Linked DNA regions of Homo sapiens: all the other regions are linked to region 1. Evidence: promoter capture Hi-C in 16 types of primary human blood cells and fetal thymus (Javierre and others, 2016). All regions are on one chromosome and are shown on one strand. Each heading gives the region's core, a stretch centred on a gene start or on the middle of the fragment in contact. The rest is flanking DNA. Distances are from core to core; before and after follow the strand shown. Region 1 holds the start of RORC (RAR related orphan receptor C). Region 2 has its middle 7.7 kb from the start of SELENBP1. Region 3 has its middle 24 kb from the start of CGN. Region 4 has its middle 8.4 kb from the start of POGZ. Region 5 overlaps POGZ (pogo transposable element derived with ZNF domain). Region 6 holds the start of PSMB4 (proteasome 20S subunit beta 4). Region 7 has its middle 4.0 kb from the start of RFX5.

Region 1 (2,700 bases), core at 18-2,517:
TCATCCACTGTCAATGACCCTAGGAGTTGAAAAGTCCTTCTCCACTTCTACCTTTATCTCTCAATCTGCAGCCATGGGGAGACTCTGGGAGCTACCTAAGAACAGAGGTGCTGATGGTAGCAGAGTGTGAAGCTCCAGGGTTGGGCAGGAGTGGAGGATGGCGAGACGAGACGGCAGAAGAGGGAAGGGACAGCTGCTTGCCCTCTCCATGCCAGGTGCCACGTGCACCAGGTGGGGGGGAGTGGGCGAGTCACGAGGCTGTGGCATGGCTGACTCCTGCTCTGCTGTTTACCAGCTGGGAACGAGAGCAGGAGGAGGTGCCAGGGAGCCTCTTGCTGCAGCCTGGCCCCTGGCCAGTTGCTTGTTGGGTAACCAGGAGAGTCAGGCCCAGCTAATCAAACTCTGGGCCCAGGCCATGCAGGAGAAAAGCAGCACCAGGATCCCCAGAAGCCTCGTCCTCTTGGCCCCCTTCAGAGCCTTCACTGCAGGCCTCAGTGTGGGCCACTAGGTCTGGGAGCCTCTCCTTCTCCCAATGAGTCCAGTGCAGCATCTCTCCTCTCCTCTTCCCCACCATGGCTTCTCTGCCTCCAGGCACTCCTCCAGGCCTGCCCCTTGCCCCAACAGATGAGGAGCACGTAGAAGCATCAGGGGGTCAGGGAGTCCTGGCAAGAGCAGCAAGGGTTAGGGGCAGGGGCCGAGCAGGCAGAGGCCTCAGGGAACTGAACAGTCACTGGGAGGAGTCTGACTGCATCCTAGAGAAGAGACACAGTCCCCCAAACCTGCCCTCTCCATCTCCCCTATGCCTGTCACCTGTCTTAGGTAGAAATCACAGGATTCTAAAGTCACAAAGACTTGGGTCCAAATCATAGCTCACCCATTTATTGTTCTTGTGTGAGTCCTTGGGCAAAATCATTAATATCTCTGAGAATCCCTCCACTCACTGATCAATCTGGAATAATAATGTTTCCCTGTGGTGGGTGCTGTGAATATTTACACAAAGTAAAAGCATGGATTTACATAAAGTGTCCTGCAAAGGGCCCAGCACACAGTAAGTGATTAATAAATGCTAGTTCCCTTCCTTTCTCCTGTCCTGTTTCTCCTCAAGGCTCCATGCACTGGTCCACTGGTCTCTCCTCATGTCCCCTCCTGGTGCCAGGACACTCTGCCAGCCACTCCTTTTCCCTGCCTGCTGGAGGGCCAGGTGCTCCCGCCTTCCACCCTCCGCCCTCCTCCCTCCCCTGGGCCCTGCTCCCTGCCCTCCTGGGCAGCCAGGGCAGCCAGGACGGCACCAAGGGAGCTGCCCCATGGACAGGGCCCCACAGAGACAGCACCGAGCCTCACGGGGTAAGAGGCCCATGGCCCTGCCTGCAGGTGGAAGAGACTGCTGGAGGTTCAGAGGAGGGCAGAAATGGCAAGAGACTGGGCAAGAAGTGAGGAGGGGAGGGAGGGACAAGAGTGCAGAGGAGAAAGCCCTGGGTTGGCAGGGAGTGAAACTGGAGGAGAAACAGGAGGAGGGGCTGGGGAGATGACAGAGGAGAAGAAATCGCAAAAGGAGAGAAACAGGAAAGAAAGGGAGAAGCGGGAGAAGGAAGAAACAGGTTGGAGGGTAGATGGGGAGGGAAGAGCCAAGTCAGGGGAGCCAGATCTAGACCCAGCGAGGGGTCAGAATGTGGACAGGCCCTCCCAGGTGTGGGCTTACCCCCCAGGAGGCACAGGGACACTGCTTCCTTGATCTGGCCAGGACCCCAGACAGCAGTGGCCGGGAGGCTGGCTGCTCCACCTTCTGTTCATTCACCAGTGGAGAAACCTGTCCTTTAAGGAGTGACAGACTTGGGGAGTGTGGCAGGGGGAACCACACCCTGTCAGCTGCCCATGACCACGTAGCCTGGTCCTTTCCTCGCCACTCACCCAGGGATGTGGGATTTCATCTCTGCAGAGAATGTGGGGCACTGGGCCATCAGCAGGGAAGGACAGAATGTCAGGCCGTCCTTGGCCCCACCCATGGTCCAAGTCAGGAACCCCCTCAGAGCAGGATCGCAGGGCCACAGGCTTGGTCAGCTGTGAGCATGGAGGAGGAAAGTTTGAGGGCCAGAGCCACCAAGCTCCAGGGCCACCTGGTGGAGGAAGAACTGGCTGCCTGGGTGAGCAAGGGGAGCACCCCCACCACAGGACTGCTCTGAGGTGCAAGGCTAGAGGCCAGGAGCCGGTGCCACGTCAGGGAGGAAGCTGGGTGGGGCCAGGCAGGAGCAAGGGGAGGTGGGCGGGGCTGGGTGGGGCCTTGCCACCTCGGGGCAGTCTTTTCTCCTCCCTCACCCCAGCAGAGCCCAGGCCATCAGGCCACTCGCCTCCACACAGCCTAGTGACCACGGCCTGCCAGTGGGGAGCATCTCCCGGGCAGAAGGGCACTGTGTGTGTGTGTGTGTGTGTGTGTGTGTGTGTGTGTGTGTATGTCAGGTGTCAAGACTGAACAGCAGAAGGAAAAAAATAACAGAATAGAGTCAGAGGTTAGGGAAGCTATAGGGGGTATAGGGCATGGTTGAAGGGCTTTCTGAGACAAAAGACTGGCCATGTGTTCTGTGATGAGCTGCTATGTGGATGTAGGAAATGGGCCAAGGTCTGGCAGGGGAATCCTCTTTCCAGGGGCTCCCTGGCTAGGTGTTTCATAGATGTTAACTGCATGAATGGGTGACACCCCCCCAC
Region 2 (2,700 bases), core at 35-2,534, 450 kb after region 1:
CTCATCCCATGGATCACCCCAACTCACCAAGCATCACTGGATCTGCTCGATCATAAGGCCCCAGTGGCAGAAGTGGTTGCAGCCAGAGAGCCCTTTCTTGTCCTAGATCCCAATCAAAGGACACTGCCTCTACCCCTCAAGTTCTATGTGCTGCCATGGCACCACCAGCTGCGCTGGACCCTGGGAGGTTCTGCAGCATGGTGACCCACCCGCACACCAGCCTTCCCTGCAGCAACCAGAACCCACTCCCTACTTCCTTGTGTTGGAGTCTCCGGTGGGCACACCTGGCTGCGTCCAAGACCAAGTCACATGCTTGCTCCTAGCAGCAAGGAGGCCTAAGGCCTGGGACGGTGAGTATCTGGCCTTTTGCCTCCCACCCAATATAGAAAGGGCTGAATGTGCTGGCCAGCCATCCAAGCAACAAAACACAAAAGCATTCTGTCTGAAGGGGCTGCGAACTTATGTGCATAGAGGTCCCAGGCCAGAGCCTGAAGCTACTGCCTGGCTTCAGATCCTGGGCTCTGCTACTCACTAGCTGTGTAACTTTGTATGAGTTGCTTCCTCTTTCTATGCTGTAACTTCTTTATCTGTAAATTGGACATAATGAAAATACCCACTTCATAGGGATGTTGTAAACCCTGTATAAGTAAAGGCAGAACATGCAAATAGCTCAGAGAAGTACTTGGCACATGGAAAGCTTTTATATGAGGTGGATGTGGTTCATTTCTCTTTCTTTATCCCTAAGTACTTCGAACAGTACCATGTATTTAATAAATGATAGCTGTTGTTATTTTATTATTACAGTTTGGGTATCCCTTATCCAAACTGCTTGGGACCAGAAGTGTTCCAGATTTCAGATTTTTTTCAGATTTTGGAATACATATATATATATTAAAATATCTTGGGGATGGGACCCAAGTCTAAACGCAAATTTATTTGTGTTTCATAAACACCTTATACACATAGCCTGAAGGTAACTTTATACAATATTTTAAATAATTTGTACATGAAACAAAGTCTTGACTGTGACCCAACACGTGAGGTCAGGCACGCAATTTGCTACCTGTGGTGTCACACTGGTGCTCAAAACATTTCAGATTTTGGAGCATTTTGGATTTCAGATTTTCAGATTAAGGATGCTCAACCTGTACCTATATCTTTTTTCTTTTTTTTTTTTTTTTTTAGACAGAGTCTCCCTCTGTCGCCCCAGGCTGCAATGCAGTGGTGCAATTTTGGCTCGCTGCAACCTCCACCTCCCAGGTTCAAGTGATTCTCCTGCCTCAGCCTCCCAAGTAGCTGGGATTGCAGGTGTGTGCCACCACGCCAGGCTAATTCTTATACTTTTAGTAGAGACAGGGTTTTGCCATGTTGGCCAGGCTGGTCTCGAACTCTTGACCTCAGGGGATCCACCTGCCTCAGCCTCCCAAAGTGCTGGGATTACAGGCGTGAGCCACCGCCTCAACCTGTACCTGTTTCTTGCCTACTTGTGCAGGTATTTCCATGGGATTGCATCCTTGAAGTGAAATTCCTAGGTAAAACAGTATGCACAGTTTAACTTTTGTGAGGTATTGACAAATTGTTTTTGTTAGTAAGGCACCAATTGACACTCTCATTAGTCCTAAATGAGTGGTCCCTTTGCCGCATAGTCTCACCAATACAAGATTTTAACCTTTAAATTTTTTGCCCATCTTATAGGCAAAAATGTTACTGTATTCTTTCACTGTTTCAATTGTTTACACATGTATTTCAAACTTAATATAAAATTTTAAAAATATGATTGATACATAATGTGAAAAATAAAAATTGCTCCCTGTAATCCAATTCTTGAGGTAACCACTGTTAGCTACATTTGGCATGATAAGGGAAGCTTTATCTCTACAAATCCTTTTCTTTAGGTTTTTTTTTTTTTTTTTAAGCGGAGTCTTGCTCTGTCGCCCAGGGTGGAGTGCAGTGGCACGATCTCAGCTCACTGCAACCTCCACCTCCCGGGTTCATGCCATTCTCCTGCCTCAGATTCCCAAGTAGCTGGGACTACAGGCGCCTGCCACCATGCCCGGCTAATTTTTTTTTTTTTTTTTTTTTTTGTATTTTTAGTAGAGATGGGGTTTCGCTGTGTTAGCCAGGATGGTCTCGATCTCCTGACCTCGTGATCCGCCCGCCTCGGCCTCCCCAAGTCCTGGAATTACAGGAGTGAGCCACCACGCCCGGCCTACTTTTTTTTTTTTTTGAGACAGCGTCTCACTCTGCCACCCAGACCAGAGTGCAGTGGTGCAATCACAGCTCACTGCAGCCTCGACCTCCAGGGCTTAAACAATCTTCCCACCTCAGCACACCTTCCCCACCCCCGAAGTAGCTAGGACTACAGGAGCCTGCCAGGCCTAAATTGTTTTAATTTTTTGTAGAGACGGTGTCTCATTATGTTGCCCAGGCTGGTCACAAACCCCTGGGCTCAAGCAATCTGCCTGCCTCAGCCTCCCAAAATACTGACATCAATCATAAGCCAAATCCTTTTCTATGAACGTATAGATGGATGAATAAATAAATAAATATAAATTTAACTAGTTAAAACTATATAGCTTAATTTTTATGTAGTTTTAATTAAAATGAGGCTGGGCACAGTGGCTCACACCTGTAATCCCAGTACTTTGAGAGGCTGAGGCAGGCAGATCAAGACCAGCCTGGCCAACATGGCGAAACCCC
Region 3 (2,700 bases), core at 42-2,541, 340 kb after region 1:
GCAACAGAGCAAGACCGTCTCCAAAAATAAAAATGAAAAAAGAAATAGTAAAGACAAACAACCTAATAAGGAAATGAACAAAGGATAGAAACAGGCAGTTCACAAAAAGAAAACAAGAAAATGACCAAATACATAGGGAAAATGTTCACACATACTAAATAGATGCAAATTAAATAGATGTAAATTATAGGCCGGGGGCAGTGGCTCAAGCCTGTAACCCCAGCACTTTGGGAGGCTGAGGCAGGAGGATCACTTGAACCCAGGAGTTCAAGACCAGCCTGGGCAACATAGCAAGACTCTACAAAAAGTTTTAAAATTAGCCAGATATGGTGGTGCATACCTGTAGTTCCAGCTACTTGGGAGGCTGAGGTGAGAGGCTCCCTTGAGCCTGGGAGGTCAAGGCTGCAGTGAACCATGATTGTGCCACTGCACTCCAGCCTGGGAGACAGACAAAGACTCTGTCTCAAAACAAAGCAAAAAATTAAAATGACTACAAGATATCATTTTTTGCCTATCAGACTGGCAAATTTTTTAAGGTTTGGAAATTCCTGGAGTTGACACCTGTGAGAAAATAGGCACTCTCAAATATTCTTTATAGGAGCAAAAATCAGTACAAACTTTTTGGAGAGCAACTATGCAGTAACTATTATTTGAAATACAATTATCAGCCAGGCACGGTGGCTCACACCTGTAATCCCAGCACTTTGGGAGGCTGAGGTGGGCAGATCACGAGGTCAAGAGATCGAGATCATCATAGCCAACTTGGTGAAACCCTGTCTCTACTAAAAATACAAAAATTAGCCGGGCGTGGTGGCGGGCACCTGTAATCCCAGGTACTCAGGAGGCTGAGGCAGGAGAATCGCTTGAACCCAGGAGGTGGAGCTTGCCGTGAACTGAGATCACTCCACTGCACTCCCGCCTGGACAACAGAGTGAGACTCCATCTCAAAAACAAACAAACAAACAAAACAAAACAAAAAAACAGATATCCTGGCTAGGCTCAGTGGCTCACGCCTGTAATCCTAGGACTTTGGGAGGCCAAAGCAGGTGGATTGCTTGAGCTCAGGAGTTGGAGATCAGCCTGGGCAATGTGGTGAAATCCTGTCTCTACAAAAAATATAAAAATTAGCCAAGTGTGGTGGCATGCATTTGTAGTCCCAGCTATTCAGGAGGCTGAGGTAGGAGGATCACTTGAGCCTGGAAGGTTGAGGCTGCAGTAAGCAAAGATCACGCCACTATACTCCATCCTGGATGACAAAGTGAGACCCTGCCCAAAAAAAAAAAAAAAAAGAAAGAAAGAAAGGAAGGAGGGAAGGAAGAAAGAAAAGAAAAGAAAAGAAAAGAGGGAGGGAAGGAGGGAGGGAGGGAGGTAAGGGAGGAAGGAGGGAGGGAGGGAGGGAAAGAGAAAGGAAGGAAGGAAGGAGAGAGAGAAAGGAAGGAAGGAAGGAAGGAAAAAAATAAAAGAATACTCAAGGTGCTTTCATGGTCATCCACAGACATGCAGAGAGCAGCAAAAGAAATTTTGCTGGGACTACAGGCACGTGCCAAAACACCTGGCTAATTTTTGTATTTTTTGTAGAGATGGGATTTTGCCATGTAGCCCAGGCTGGCCTTGAACTCCTGGACTCAAGCAATCCATTCGCTTCGGCCTTCCAAAGTACTGGGATTACAAGTGTGAGCCACTGTGACCACCCAAAACTTCCCTTTCATCATGTCATTTCCCTCTGGAAAATCTCAACAATTCTCCATTGCCTATTACAGCAAATCTAACTTTCAAAGTCTTACATAATCAGGTCTCCACCTATGTCTCCCTACTCTCCAATTCCAGTCCTATTGGCTAGCATTCCTTCTCACTCTCCACCTTATCTGGCCCCAGCCATGCCAGTTGCTGCCTCCATACTTTTGCCTGTTGATCCCCAGATCTAGGCCACACCTCTGTGGCTACTCAAATCCTACCAATTGCTCAGTTTCACTACTTCAGTGAAACCCTTCTTGATTTCTTTTTTTCTATAATTTTTTCCAATTATAAATTCTTATGAGGCTAAACCACAAGATGAATGTTTCACTTATATGTTATTTATAAATTATAACTGTAAATTTATAATTGTTTTGTATATATTTATTTAAAAGCACTTTAGCACTTACTATTACTATTTTAATTACTTTACAAATATTACCTCATTTGATTTTCATAATGACCTTATGAAGTATTATCATTTCCATTTTAAGTGAGGAAATCAAAGTGCAGAGATGTTAAGTAACTTGCCCAAGGTCATACAGTAAGTAGCAGGATTCACACCCTGACAGTCTGACTCTAGAATCATGCTTATAGTCATGCATGTAATAAGAATATACAGTTCTGCCTTTTGATTGCTTAAATGGATTAATTATATGATGAGGTCCTTGGGAGGGGATTCCCATTTCTTCTCTTGAGAGCCTCATATCATGTACTTAAAAGTCTTATCAACTGCCTGGAGTTTTCTAGGTTTCATTTTCATGGGAGGCTGATACTTCTAGCTCTGGGAATGGACTTGCGATTAGGATGCTGGGCATTAAGCCAAGCATGGTTCCCTTGAATTTGCTAGCTGTCTCCTTTCTATTTGAATTCCCCATCTTTCTTCCATAGATGGGCCATGCCAAGCCCTTTGCTCCCCTCTGGCTTCCCTCACTGATTGCCAGGAGCTCACAGTGAGTCCTATGG
Region 4 (2,700 bases), core at 20-2,519, 360 kb after region 1:
TTAGCCAGGCTGGTCTTGAACTCCCGACCTCGTGATCCGCCCACCTTGGCCTCCCAAAGTGCTGGGATTACAGGCGTGAGCCACCACATCCGGCCTCTTTGTTGGTTTTATCAGTAACTTTATTAATCTGCTGCCCACGTGGAATGCCTTTCTTCTTTTCCCTCATTTATCTACATCCTGCCCCTTCTTTAAGACAAGGTCTGAGCCCACTCCTTTCAAGAATTTTTCACCGAAGACTTGAGCCTGCACAGATCTTTCCTATCTCTTGCCAGAAGGTACTGTCTGTCTCATACATTTAACATCATTTTATATGTCATATTCTTTAATTGCCTGGGCCACACAAATTAACACTTGGCAATATTACGTTACCTATTTTGTTAATTAACATGTGGAAGAAATAGTAGGGTTTTACTAAATGCTTGACTGATTAAGAACAATAACTACGTATTTCTTGGAAGTTATTACTTCAAGCAATTTTATAAAAGATGCTTGAGCCCAAGACCCAAAGTATTTAGAAGAGATACCTTAAGGTAAGAAATCTCGGGAAGAATCAGAATAGGGAGCCTGTCATCCATGAGTATAGTCAAATGTTATCATGTCCCATAAAATATTTATATCTTAAGAATTATTGGTAAAAACTATCATTTATGGAGTAACTACTGTAAAGTATTGGCCTAGACATTTTATATATTATATCTCTAATATAACAACCCTGCAATGTAACTAATATCAGGCTCTATCCAGTTCACCATGTTGTCTCTCATTCTTTTTTGTTGTGTTTTGTTTTGTTTAGAGACAGGTCTCACACTGCCACCCAGGCTGGAGTGCAATGGCACAATCGTAGCTCACTGCAGCCTCAAAATCCTGGGCTCCAGCAGCCTTCCCGCCTCAGCCTCTCCAGTGGCTGGGACTACAGGCACGCACTACCACACCCAACTAACTTTTTACTTTTTGTAGAGATAGGGTTTCATTACGTTGCCCAGGCTGCTCTTGAACTTTTGGACTCAAACAATCCTCCCTCCTTGGCCTCCCAAAGTTCTGGGATTACAGGCGTGAGCTACTGCACCTGGCCTTGTCTCACATTCTTAACCATAAAAGTGTCCTGGGAACTTCTTATTTTTTCAGTCCAACCTTTATACCCGTTTATTAGTCAGTATAATTAGGCTATCCTACATTAACAAATTAATCCTGGAATCTCAGTGATTTAGCACAATAAATTTTTTTTGTTGTTATTCTGGTAAAGTCTGATGTATTCTGGGCAACTCACTAGTTCAACTCTACTTCATGGGGTGACTCAGGAATCTAGGATGCTTCCATACTCTGGTTCTACCATCCCATTTGATGGGAAAAGAGGAGGCATGTCAACCTTTAAATTGAAGGGCAATTGATGGATTACTTCTGGCCCAGAACATTCTTGAGGTCAGGAGTTCGAGACCAGCCTGGCCAATATGGTGAAACCCCATTTCTACTAAAAAATGCAAAAAAAAGGTTAAGAGATCACGAGGTCAGGAGATCGAGACCATCCTGGCTAACATGGTGAAAACCCGTCTCTACTAAAAATACAAAAAATTAGCCGGATGTGGTGGCGGGCTGAAATCACACCACTGCACTCCAGCCTGGGTGACAGAGAGAGACTTTGTCTCATAAAAAAAAAAAAAAAAAAAAAGGTTAAGATTCACTTTCTAGGCTAGGAATAACATTCTGGGCCAGAAGTAATCCATCAATTGCACTTACATTCCCATTTACAAGGACTCAATCTTGAGGCCCTGATACAGCTACAAGAGAGGCTGGGAAATGAGAGTACATGAATATTCAGTGAGCCACAGTCAATATAGTAAAGGCAGGCATCCCAGGAGAGCCACTATTCTTGCAAGGTTGGAGAATCAAAATAACCTCCTTAATGCCAATTATATCAACTCAACTGGCTGAAGTAACTAGACTATCTGATCATCTATGGGGTTCTAGAGGTTCCTGGACTTTCCTACATGTCGAAGAACATCTTGGGCAAAGATAAAGGAAGAAGTAAAATAATAATAATAATGGCCGGGTACAGTGGCTCACGCCTGTAATCCCAGCACTTTAGGAGGCCAAGGCGGGCGGATCATGAGGTCAGGGCTTCGAGACCAGCCTGGCCACTATGGTGAAACCCCGTCTCTACTAAAAATACAAAAATTAGCCAGGTGTGGTGGCACGCGGGTGTAGTCCCAGCTACTCAGGAGGCTGAGGCAGAAAAATTGCCTGAACCCAGGAGGCGGAGGTTGCAGTGAGCTGAGATCGTACCACTGCACTCCAACCTGGGTAACACAGTGAGACTCCATCTCAAAAATAATAATAATAACAGTAATATAGTAATAGTAATATAATAATAGTAAGCCACATGTTAGAGTGAGAAGAAACTCTAGTTCTTTGGGCACATATGTTCATATAGGATTATTGAGAAATGTATCATTTCTCTAGGAAGATAGGGAATGAAGCATAACTTTTTTTTTTTTTTTTTTTCTCGAGACAGAGTCTTGCTCTGTCACCCAGGGAGGAGCGCAGTGGCACAATCTCAGCTCACTGCAACCTTCGCCTCCCATGCTTCAGCCTCAGGAGTAGCTGGAATTACAGACCTGCACCCCCATGCCCGGCTAATTTTTGTATTTTTAGTAGAGATGGGATTTCGCCATATTGGCCACGCTAGTCTTGAACTCCTGACCT
Region 5 (2,700 bases), core at 72-2,571, 410 kb after region 1:
CTTAGGTCTCTTTATAGAAGGAACAGTCATCTATTTGCTCTTCCACTTTAGTTAAACCCTGATAGGTTTTATGTAGGCTAAAAGATAATATTGTGAAGTACTTTATCATTAAGACATTGCTTTCAATGAAATATAAGATGAGCTGGAGTGTTTTCTACACTGTATATTTTATACATGTAGGCTGGACATAAGCTCAAAGAAATTAAGTAGGATAAAAGATAATATGGCCGGGCACGGTGGCTCACGCCTGTAATCCCAACACTTTGGGAGGCCGAAGCAGGCAGATCACCTGAAGTCAGGAATTCGAGACCAGCCCGGCCAACATGGCGAAGCCCCATCTCTACTAAAAATGCAAAAATTAGCTGGGTGTGGTGGCGGGCACCTGTAATCCCAGCTACTCGGGAGGCTGAGACAGGAGAATCGCTTGAACCCGGGAGGCGGAGGTTGCAGTGAGCTGAGATCATGCCATTGCACTCCAGTCTGGGCAACAAGAGCAAAACTCCATCTCCAAAAAAAAAAAGATAATATTATGAAGTACTTTATCATTAAGACAGTGCTTTCAGTGAAATATAAGGTAAGCTGGAATGTTTTTCTACACTGTACATTTTATAGATAGATGTAGGCTGAACATAAGCTCAAAGAAATTGAGTCATTTGCTTATGAGCGTACACCTCTAAATACACCTCTACTGGGGATACATAGTGAGGATTTAAGCCCAGTATTGAGAATACTTCTCATGTCCTTTACGGGATTTCCAGTTTTGTTGTAAAGACAAAAATTATGTAAATATAGGAAAATGTGAGAACAAGATAGTATATTATAAACATAGACATTTTAAGATATCATTGATAGGTGAAATACTTCAGAGAAGGGAAAAAATCCTTGTGGCTAGGTTTCCAAGAAAGTCGTGCTTAAATTTAAGAAAGGTTTAGATGGATGGAGAGTAGTAAGAAAAGCTTTTAGGTGATTGAAAACAGCATGATCAAAAGCATAGAAGACATATGCATATTATCTGGATGCATTTGCTACAAGTAAAAATCCTTAACTAAAAATGAATTAAACAATAAGGACTGGGTGTGGTGGCTCACACCTGTAATCCCAGCACTTTGGGAGGCTTAGGTGGGTGGATCAGTTGAGGCCAGGGGAGACCAGTCTGGCCAACATGGCAAAACCACATCTCTACTAAAAATACAAAAATTCGCTGGCTGTGGTGGTGTGCGCAGGTAATCCCAACTACTCAGGAAGCCAAGGCATGAGAATCACTTGATCCCAGGAGGTAGAGGTTGCAGTGAGCTGAGATCGCACCACTGCACTCCAGCCTGGATGACAGAGCGAGTCTCTGTCTCAAAACAAAAGAAAACAATAAGAATATCTGTTATATCATTTAACTGAGAGATACAGAAATGGATGCTTCAGCCTAGAATTTGACTGCCCTGCTGGTTTTCAACAATTCTCTTGTCTCTGGCTCATAGCAGGGTGGCTGTATAAGTGTCAGGCACTATGTCCAGATAAAAAATTGTTAGACAAAGAAGAGATCTTATCTTCCCATCTTTCTTTCTTGAATCTGTTTTCTTATGAGTGAGAATTGCTTTCCTTTTATATCTCTTTGACCATTTATTGGCAAGGGAAGTGGGATTGACATTAATGGCTTACAGTAACACTAGGCAGTAGAAATACGCAAGCTTCATGAGTAATTTTAATTTTTTTCACTTTAAATACAGTAGCGCTCCCTTATCCTCAATTTTTCTTTCTTGAATCTGTTTTCTTATGAGTGAGAATTGCTTTCCTTTTATATCTCTGACCATTTATTGGCAAGGGAAGTGGGATTGACATTAATGGCTTACAGTAACACTAGGCAGTAGAAATATGCAAGCTTCATGAGTAATTTTAATTTTTTTCACTTTAAATACAGTAGCGCTCCCTTATCCTCAATTTTAGTCTCAATCACAGTCCAAAACTAGGTGAGTGCAGTACAATAAGATTATTGAGAGAGACACCACATTCACATAACTTTTATTACAGTATATTGTTATAATTATCCTTTTATATATTATATATTTTTAATTGTTAATCTCTTTGCCTAATTTATAAATTAAACTTTATCATAGGTATATATATATATATATATGAAAAAACACGGTATGTATAGGGTTCAATACTATCTGAGGTTTCATGTATGCACTGGGGGTCTTGGAACGTATATTTCCCATTGGCAAAGGGCGTCTACTGTAAAGTTTAAAAAAACAGGCAAAATTAATTTTAACAGCATATTTTATTCAGTATATTAAAAATATTTCAACATGAACTCAAAATTTAAAATTAATGAGATATTCGTCATTCTTTTTTCCTCCATTAAAAAACAGATCTTTTGAAATACAAATCTAAATTGGGTTTGAGCTTACCACATTTTAAGTGTTCACTAGATACATGTTGCTGGTGCCACCATATTAGACAGTGAAACTTTGGACTAATCATTTGGGAGTAGAATGTATATTAGAATCAACCGGGCCAGGTGCAGTGGTTCACACCTGTAATCTCAGCACTTTGAGAGGCCGAGGCAGGCAGATTGAGCTTAGGAGTTCAAGACCAGCCTGGGCAGCATGGAGAAACCCCGTCTCTACAAAAAAAATACAAAAATTGGGTGTGGTGGCGCACGCCTATAGTCGTAGCTACTCAGGAGGTAGAGGTGGGAGGATTGCT
Region 6 (2,700 bases), core at 48-2,547, 430 kb after region 1:
CCCACCTCTAGACTTACTACTTACCTGAGCCAAGTATGCACCATAACCAGTGGCCAGCGAAGGGGCTTCATAGGCTACACCAAGCATGTCCACATAACCGAGGAAGCTAACAGGACACAATGGGTCAAAACTCATTTCACCTTAGATTCATCTTAGCTGAAGAAGGGGACCATGGGGTCTGAGTTAAAGTGGGATTCACTTGGGGAGAAGAGACAGAAGAGATACTACACAGGTACTAGGTTGGGTGGTAAAGGAAATAAGTTATTTGTATTCATATGAACCTCTCTCCATCAGCATAGCCTCCGATGACCATGGTGTTCCACAAAGGGTTCATCTTCGAGCGCCGGCTGTACATGGCCCTGGTCAGCCATGAATGAATAGCTCTAGGACTATAGCTGTGTCCATCTCCCAGAAGCTCCTCATCAATCCTTAAAAGGAATTGGTTGTGAGAAAAGGGAGAGAATTAAGTCGGGGTCTCCACCCATCCCCAAAAGAAGTTACCACACCTTCCCCCATTTTACACCTAATGCCAAAAACTTTATTGCAAACACAGATCGCCCACCTCCAACAACTCTTCCAGTCCCCCGCTGCAACAAGTCCCCCCATCCCATCGAAGGGAATAAAAAACAGGGGACTCCCCTCTCTACTTGGGAACCACTCTCCTGTTCTCTGGATGACTTACACCATCTGGCCGAGAACTTGCTTCAAATACTGGAAATCAGCGTAGTCGCCAGAGGCACCCAGCATGGTACTGTTGTTGACTCGCATAATGCGAGAGATGTTGCGGAAACGAGCCAAGGAGCCGTAGGATCCCAGCATGTCTGCGGCAATCACCACTCCGCCCTCGAACTTAACGCCGAGGACTGAGGTCCCGGTCACCATGGGGTTCCTAAAGAGTGAGAACGGTGGGAGCTGAGAGGGGGGATGGACTGCGCCCTCTTTCCGCGCACTGAGCTGCGCTTCTGATTTTCTATAATTCCTTCCAATTATTCTGCATTCTCCAGGACTCCGCGCCCTGAGCTCCCCTGCCGTTCGCGCGCCCCCGGGGTCCCCGCCTCACCTTCCCGGGCTCTCAAAACCAGCCGGCAGCACCAGGCCCCACGGTCCCTCCCGCTACGCAAACGAAAGCGCCGAGAACTTACTGGGTCCGCGTGATTGGACCTCTGTAAAGTGCAGACGCCGGATCCATGAAGGAATCGGGAGTGGACGGAATGCGGTAAAACTGTCCTGGGGCCGGACCCCCCGCCCAAAGTCCGGACCGCGACCCCAAAAACGCTTCCATCTTAGTCACGGTAGCAGAAAAAATGAAAGCGCTTGCGCCAACGGAAGCGGAAGTGATCCTTCAGTGTCATTTCTTTCTTTTTCCTGTAGACGACTTCCAGCAGCCATGTTGATGAGGTCGTAGCTGAACATGCAGTAATCCTAGGTGGCGACCGAGACAGGGAGTTGAAATTGCCCAACATCGCTTCGCATCGCATCGCATCTCCGTGGAGTTTGGACCAGATCACAGCGTTCTAACACACGATTCAAGGAGGAGGGAGGCATGAAGGTGGGGTGGGGAGGTGGCCACTTAAAGACGCTGATCCTGAGTGAGACGTCACAATTTTTTATTTTATTTTTTATTTTTTTGAGACGGAGTCTCGCTCTGGCCCCCAGGCTGGAATGCAGTGGCGCGATCTCGGCTCACTGCAACCTCCGCCTCCCAGATTCAAGCGATTCTCGTGCCTTAGCCTCCCGAGTAGCTGGGATTACAGGCGCCTGCCACCACGCCTGGCTAATTTTTTGTATTTTTGCTAGAGATGGGGTTTCACCATGTTGGCCAGGCTGGTCTCGAACTCCGGATCTCAGGTGATCCGCCTGCCTCGGACTCCCAAAGTGCTGGGATTACAGGAGTAAGCCGCCTCGCCCGGCCTAGAAGTCACAGTTCTCATGTTCCTTTTGTATCATTATCAAAAAGCCCACATGAAAATATCAGTGAACACAGGATCTCTTACATCTGTACTCCTCAGAGCAGCCCCATGTGGCAGGCATTATTCGACCCATTTGGTAAATAGGAAACCGAGGCTTGCGGTGTAGTGATTTACCCAGTCACACAGCCGATAACGGTAGAACTGAATCTTGAAGCTAGAATAAAAAAAGGAATCAGGGCCGGGTGCGGTGGCTCATGCCTGTAATCCCAGAACTTTGGGAGGCCAAGACGGGAGGATCACTTGAACCCAGGAATTCAAGACCAGCCTTGGCAACATGGTGAGACCTCACCTCTACAAAACAAAACAAAACAAAAAATTAGCCAGGCCTGTAATTCCAGCTACTTGGGAGGGTGAGGTGGGAGAATCGCCTGAACCCGAGGGAGGTTGCAGTGAGCCAAGGTGGCGCCACTGCACTCCAGCCTGGGCAACAGAGCGAGACCCTGTCACAAAAAAAAAAAAAAAAAAAAAAAAAAAAAGAATACACTTGTGTATACCCTGTGGGGTGTGATAGCTCAGGTGGATCAAGCACTCTCTGTGGGACCTTAGACAAGTCTGAAAGTTTCCTTATTGTCAAGGGCCCTTGCCCACCTCTAAAGAAACAGAAAAATTCCATTGGAAGTGTAGGGGTGAAACTAAATTCCAGGGGTTTCCTTCTCAGTGTAACTCCATAGCAGGGGCTGGAAACTGTCTTGAATCAAACTGGTGAATTTTGTCAAAGATAAACAAAGCC
Region 7 (2,700 bases), core at 139-2,638, 480 kb after region 1:
AGTAGGCAATGTATAATAGTGTCCAAGAGCAAATTCTGAATGAAATGAGAGAGGAGAAAGAAGAAACCAGTCAGGCAGGCAGTTAAGGTGGGTCCTTGGTAAAACTCCTTCAAACAAAGAACAGCCTGAAAATTAAACTGCAGGCCCCAGATAAGTGACAGCCCGCATCCTGGAATGGAAATACCTACTCTAGGAACCCAGATGAACAAATACCACTCCCTTTTTGGACATATTTCACTCTCTTTGGCACACCTTAGTCTCTTAGTTTTCATCTATTTTACATATGCTTACCTTTCTGTGATTGGCCACAGCGGGAGTCTTCATTTACATAGGGTGAATCATCACTTCAGCCCCTGATTGGTTCCAGGCCAAGGTCCTGGCCCAAGCTTTCACTTCAGCCCCTGACTTGGTTCCAGGCCAAGTTGTTGAGCCAAGCCTTCACTTCTGCCTCCAACTGGTTCTTTACACTATCATACCTCTTTCTGAGTGGTGCTTTCTGCAAGATAGCCTGCAGGCCCGATCAGCACACTCCTCCCTTTCCCAGTCCATAAGCCACCCTCCTCACCCTCCCACTCAGCCTCATAGCTGGCAATCCTCTTTCAGGCCCCCTCTTTGCTGAGAGCTTTTCTGTTGCTTAATAAATCTGACTCTGGCTGGTCAGGAGTTTGAGACCAGCCTGGCCAACATGGTGAAACCCCGTCTGTACTAAAAATACAAAAAATTAGCCAGGTTCGGTGGCTCACACCTGTAATCCCAGCACTTTGAGAGGCCAAGACGGGCAGATCATGAGGTCAAGAGATTGAGACCGTCCTGGACAACATGGTGAAACACCATCTCTACTAAAAATACAAAAATTAGCTGGGCATGGTGGCAGGCGCCTGTAATCTCAGCTACCTGGGAGGCTGAGGCAGGAGAATTGTTTGTACCCAGGAGGTGGAGGTTGCAGTGAGCCAAGATTGTGCCACTGCACTCCAGCTTGGTAACAGAGTGAAACTCCATCGCCCCCCCGCCAAAAAAAAAACAAAAAGCAAAATATTGGCTGGGTGTGGTAGCAGGCACCTACAGTTCTAGCTACTTGGGAGGCTGAGGCAAGAGAATCGCTTGAACCCGGGAGGCGGAGGTTGCAGTGAGCCAAGATCATGCCACTGCACTCCAGTTCAGGTGACAGAGTGAGACTCCCCCATCTCAAAAAAAATAATAAAATAAATAAGTAAATAAATAAATAAATCTGACTGCCTTACTCACTCTCCAGTGTCTACACACCTTATTCTTCTTGGTCGTGGGACAAGAATACAGAGTCCACCAGCAGTTGAAGTGAAAATGCTGGAACACTCCCTCCCACTCTCCAAACAGCAAGAGTGAAAAAGCTGCAACAGGCCAGGCATGGTGGCTCACGCCTATAATCCCAGCACTTTTGGAAGCCAAGGTGGGTGGATCATTTGAGGTCAGGAGCTCAAGACTAGCTTGGCCAAAATGGTGAGACCCCATTTCTACTAAAAATACAAAAATTAGCCAGGTGTGGTGGCACACGCCTGTAATCCCAGCTACTCAGGAGGCTGAGGTAGGAAAATCACTTGAACCTGGGAGGCAGAGGTTGCAGTGAGCCAAGTGCAGTGGAGCCACTGCACTACAGCCTGGATGACAGAGTGAGACTCTGTCTAAAAAGGAAAAAAAAAAAAAGCTGCAACGCAAAGAGCCTAGGTGCAGATCCTGGCTCCATAGCTTACTAAATTATGATGTAATCTTGGGCAAATTATTAACCTTTCAATGCCTGTCTCCTCACCTGTAAAATGGGGATAATCATAGTATCTATCTGAGGCCGCACGCGGTAGCTCACGCCTGTAATCCCAGCACTTTGGGAGGCTGAGGCGGGCGGATCACGAGGTCAGGAGATAGAGACCATCCTGGCTAACATGGTGAAACCCCGTTTCTATTAAAAATACAAAAAAATTAGCCCGGTGTGGTGGCAGGCGCCTGTAGTCCCAGCTACTTGTGAGGCTGAGGCAGGAGAATCACTTGAACCTGGGAGGCAGAGCTTGCAGTGAGCCGAGATTGCGCCACTGCTCTCCAGCCTGGGTGACAGAGCAAGAATCCGTCTCGAAAAAAAAAAGAACGGGCCCCAACACATATTAGGCTCTGTATAAATACTTGCTGTTATATGATGCTTATCCGGACAATTTTTATTGTTACTGCCCAAGGCAAGGACCATACCTTATTCAGCTTTGTATCCCTAGCTCTTAACACAATGCCTGGCATAAATTAATAGTTTCCTCTTTCCTATCTCTAGCCTTTTCTTTCACTCAACTCTACCTTCTATAGTGCTGTCAAAATCATCTCTTTTACTAGGTACTATGTACTATGATACTTTCTCCCCCCTTACTAAAGCTTCCAGTTTTTCCCTGTTATCTGCAAATTTTTAAGCTAGATAACTTACCCAAAACTCTGTTTGCAACCAAAGTGCTCTAGGTTCTCCTTCATACCAAACAGTGGTGTTAGGGCTATCTTTCCATCAGTCTATATCCATATTTGGCTTGCTATTTATTTATTTATTTATTTAGAGATGGAGTTTCGCTCTTGTTGCCCAGGCTGGAGTGCAATGGCATGATCTCGGCTCACCCAACCTCCGCCTCCCAGGTTCAAGCAATTCTCCTGCCTCAGCCTGCCAAGTAGCTGGGATTACAGGCATGCACCACCACGACT

What was found. Contacts are between HindIII fragments. The CHiCAGO score rates a contact against its expected background, and 5 or more counts as called.
Region 2: a fragment that was not itself captured here is called in contact with the fragment with the promoter of RORC in region 1 in 3 of 17 cell types (M0 macrophages, endothelial precursors and M1 macrophages); the score reaches 7.9 in M0 macrophages.
Region 3: a fragment that was not itself captured here is called in contact with the fragment with the promoter of RORC in region 1 in 9 of 17 cell types (M1 macrophages, erythroblasts, M2 macrophages and 6 more); the score reaches 12.6 in M1 macrophages.
Region 4: a contact is called between a fragment that was not itself captured here and the fragment with the promoter of RORC in region 1, in 3 of 17 cell types (endothelial precursors, M2 macrophages and M1 macrophages). The highest score is 5.6, in endothelial precursors.
Region 5: a fragment that was not itself captured here is called in contact with the fragment with the promoter of RORC in region 1 in 3 of 17 cell types (erythroblasts, M2 macrophages and M0 macrophages); the score reaches 6.2 in erythroblasts.
Region 6: the fragment with the promoter of PSMB4 here is called in contact with the fragment with the promoter of RORC in region 1 in 4 of 17 cell types (M2 macrophages, M1 macrophages, M0 macrophages and 1 more); the score reaches 7.9 in M2 macrophages.
Region 7: a contact is called between a fragment that was not itself captured here and the fragment with the promoter of RORC in region 1, in 1 of 17 cell types (M1 macrophages). The highest score is 5.3, in M1 macrophages.

The regions. Positions count from the first base shown.
Region 1 is chr1:151,830,369-151,833,068 of GRCh38, reverse strand. It overlaps RORC (RAR related orphan receptor C), which reads left to right and starts at 1,267. Exons shown (of 11, transcript NM_005060.4): 1 at 1,267-1,344. The coding sequence starts at 1,305. RefSeq lists an enhancer at 1,959-2,646. The HindIII fragment of the contact is 14,534 bases long and covers 1-2,700 here.
Region 2 is chr1:151,379,086-151,381,785 of GRCh38, reverse strand. No RefSeq gene overlaps it. Among named protein-coding and RNA genes, the nearest start is that of SELENBP1, 7.7 kb to the right of the region's middle. The HindIII fragment of the contact is 1,170 bases long and covers 700-1,869 here.
Region 3 is chr1:151,485,901-151,488,600 of GRCh38, reverse strand. No RefSeq gene overlaps it. Among named protein-coding and RNA genes, the nearest start is that of CGN, 24 kb to the left of the region's middle. The HindIII fragment of the contact is 3,303 bases long and covers 1-2,700 here.
Region 4 is chr1:151,466,546-151,469,245 of GRCh38, reverse strand. No RefSeq gene overlaps it. Among named protein-coding and RNA genes, the nearest start is that of POGZ, 8.4 kb to the right of the region's middle. The HindIII fragment of the contact is 5,152 bases long and covers 1-2,700 here.
Region 5 is chr1:151,420,417-151,423,116 of GRCh38, reverse strand. The region is part of intron 10 of POGZ (pogo transposable element derived with ZNF domain); the gene reads left to right. Among named protein-coding and RNA genes, the nearest start is that of PSMB4, 22 kb to the right of the region's middle. The HindIII fragment of the contact is 726 bases long and covers 959-1,684 here.
Region 6 is chr1:151,398,170-151,400,869 of GRCh38, reverse strand. PSMB4 (proteasome 20S subunit beta 4) reads right to left here and starts at 1,297. Exons shown (of 7, transcript NM_002796.3): 1 at 1,143-1,297; 2 at 683-889; 3 at 282-428; 4 at 25-106. The coding sequence starts at 1,282. RefSeq lists a silencer at 570-727 and enhancers at 496-1,217, 1,568-1,617, 1,218-1,940. The HindIII fragment of the contact is 7,561 bases long and covers 1-2,700 here.
Region 7 is chr1:151,349,904-151,352,603 of GRCh38, reverse strand. No RefSeq gene overlaps it. Among named protein-coding and RNA genes, the nearest start is that of RFX5, 4.0 kb to the right of the region's middle. RefSeq lists a silencer at 1,204-1,404. The HindIII fragment of the contact is 1,999 bases long and covers 389-2,387 here.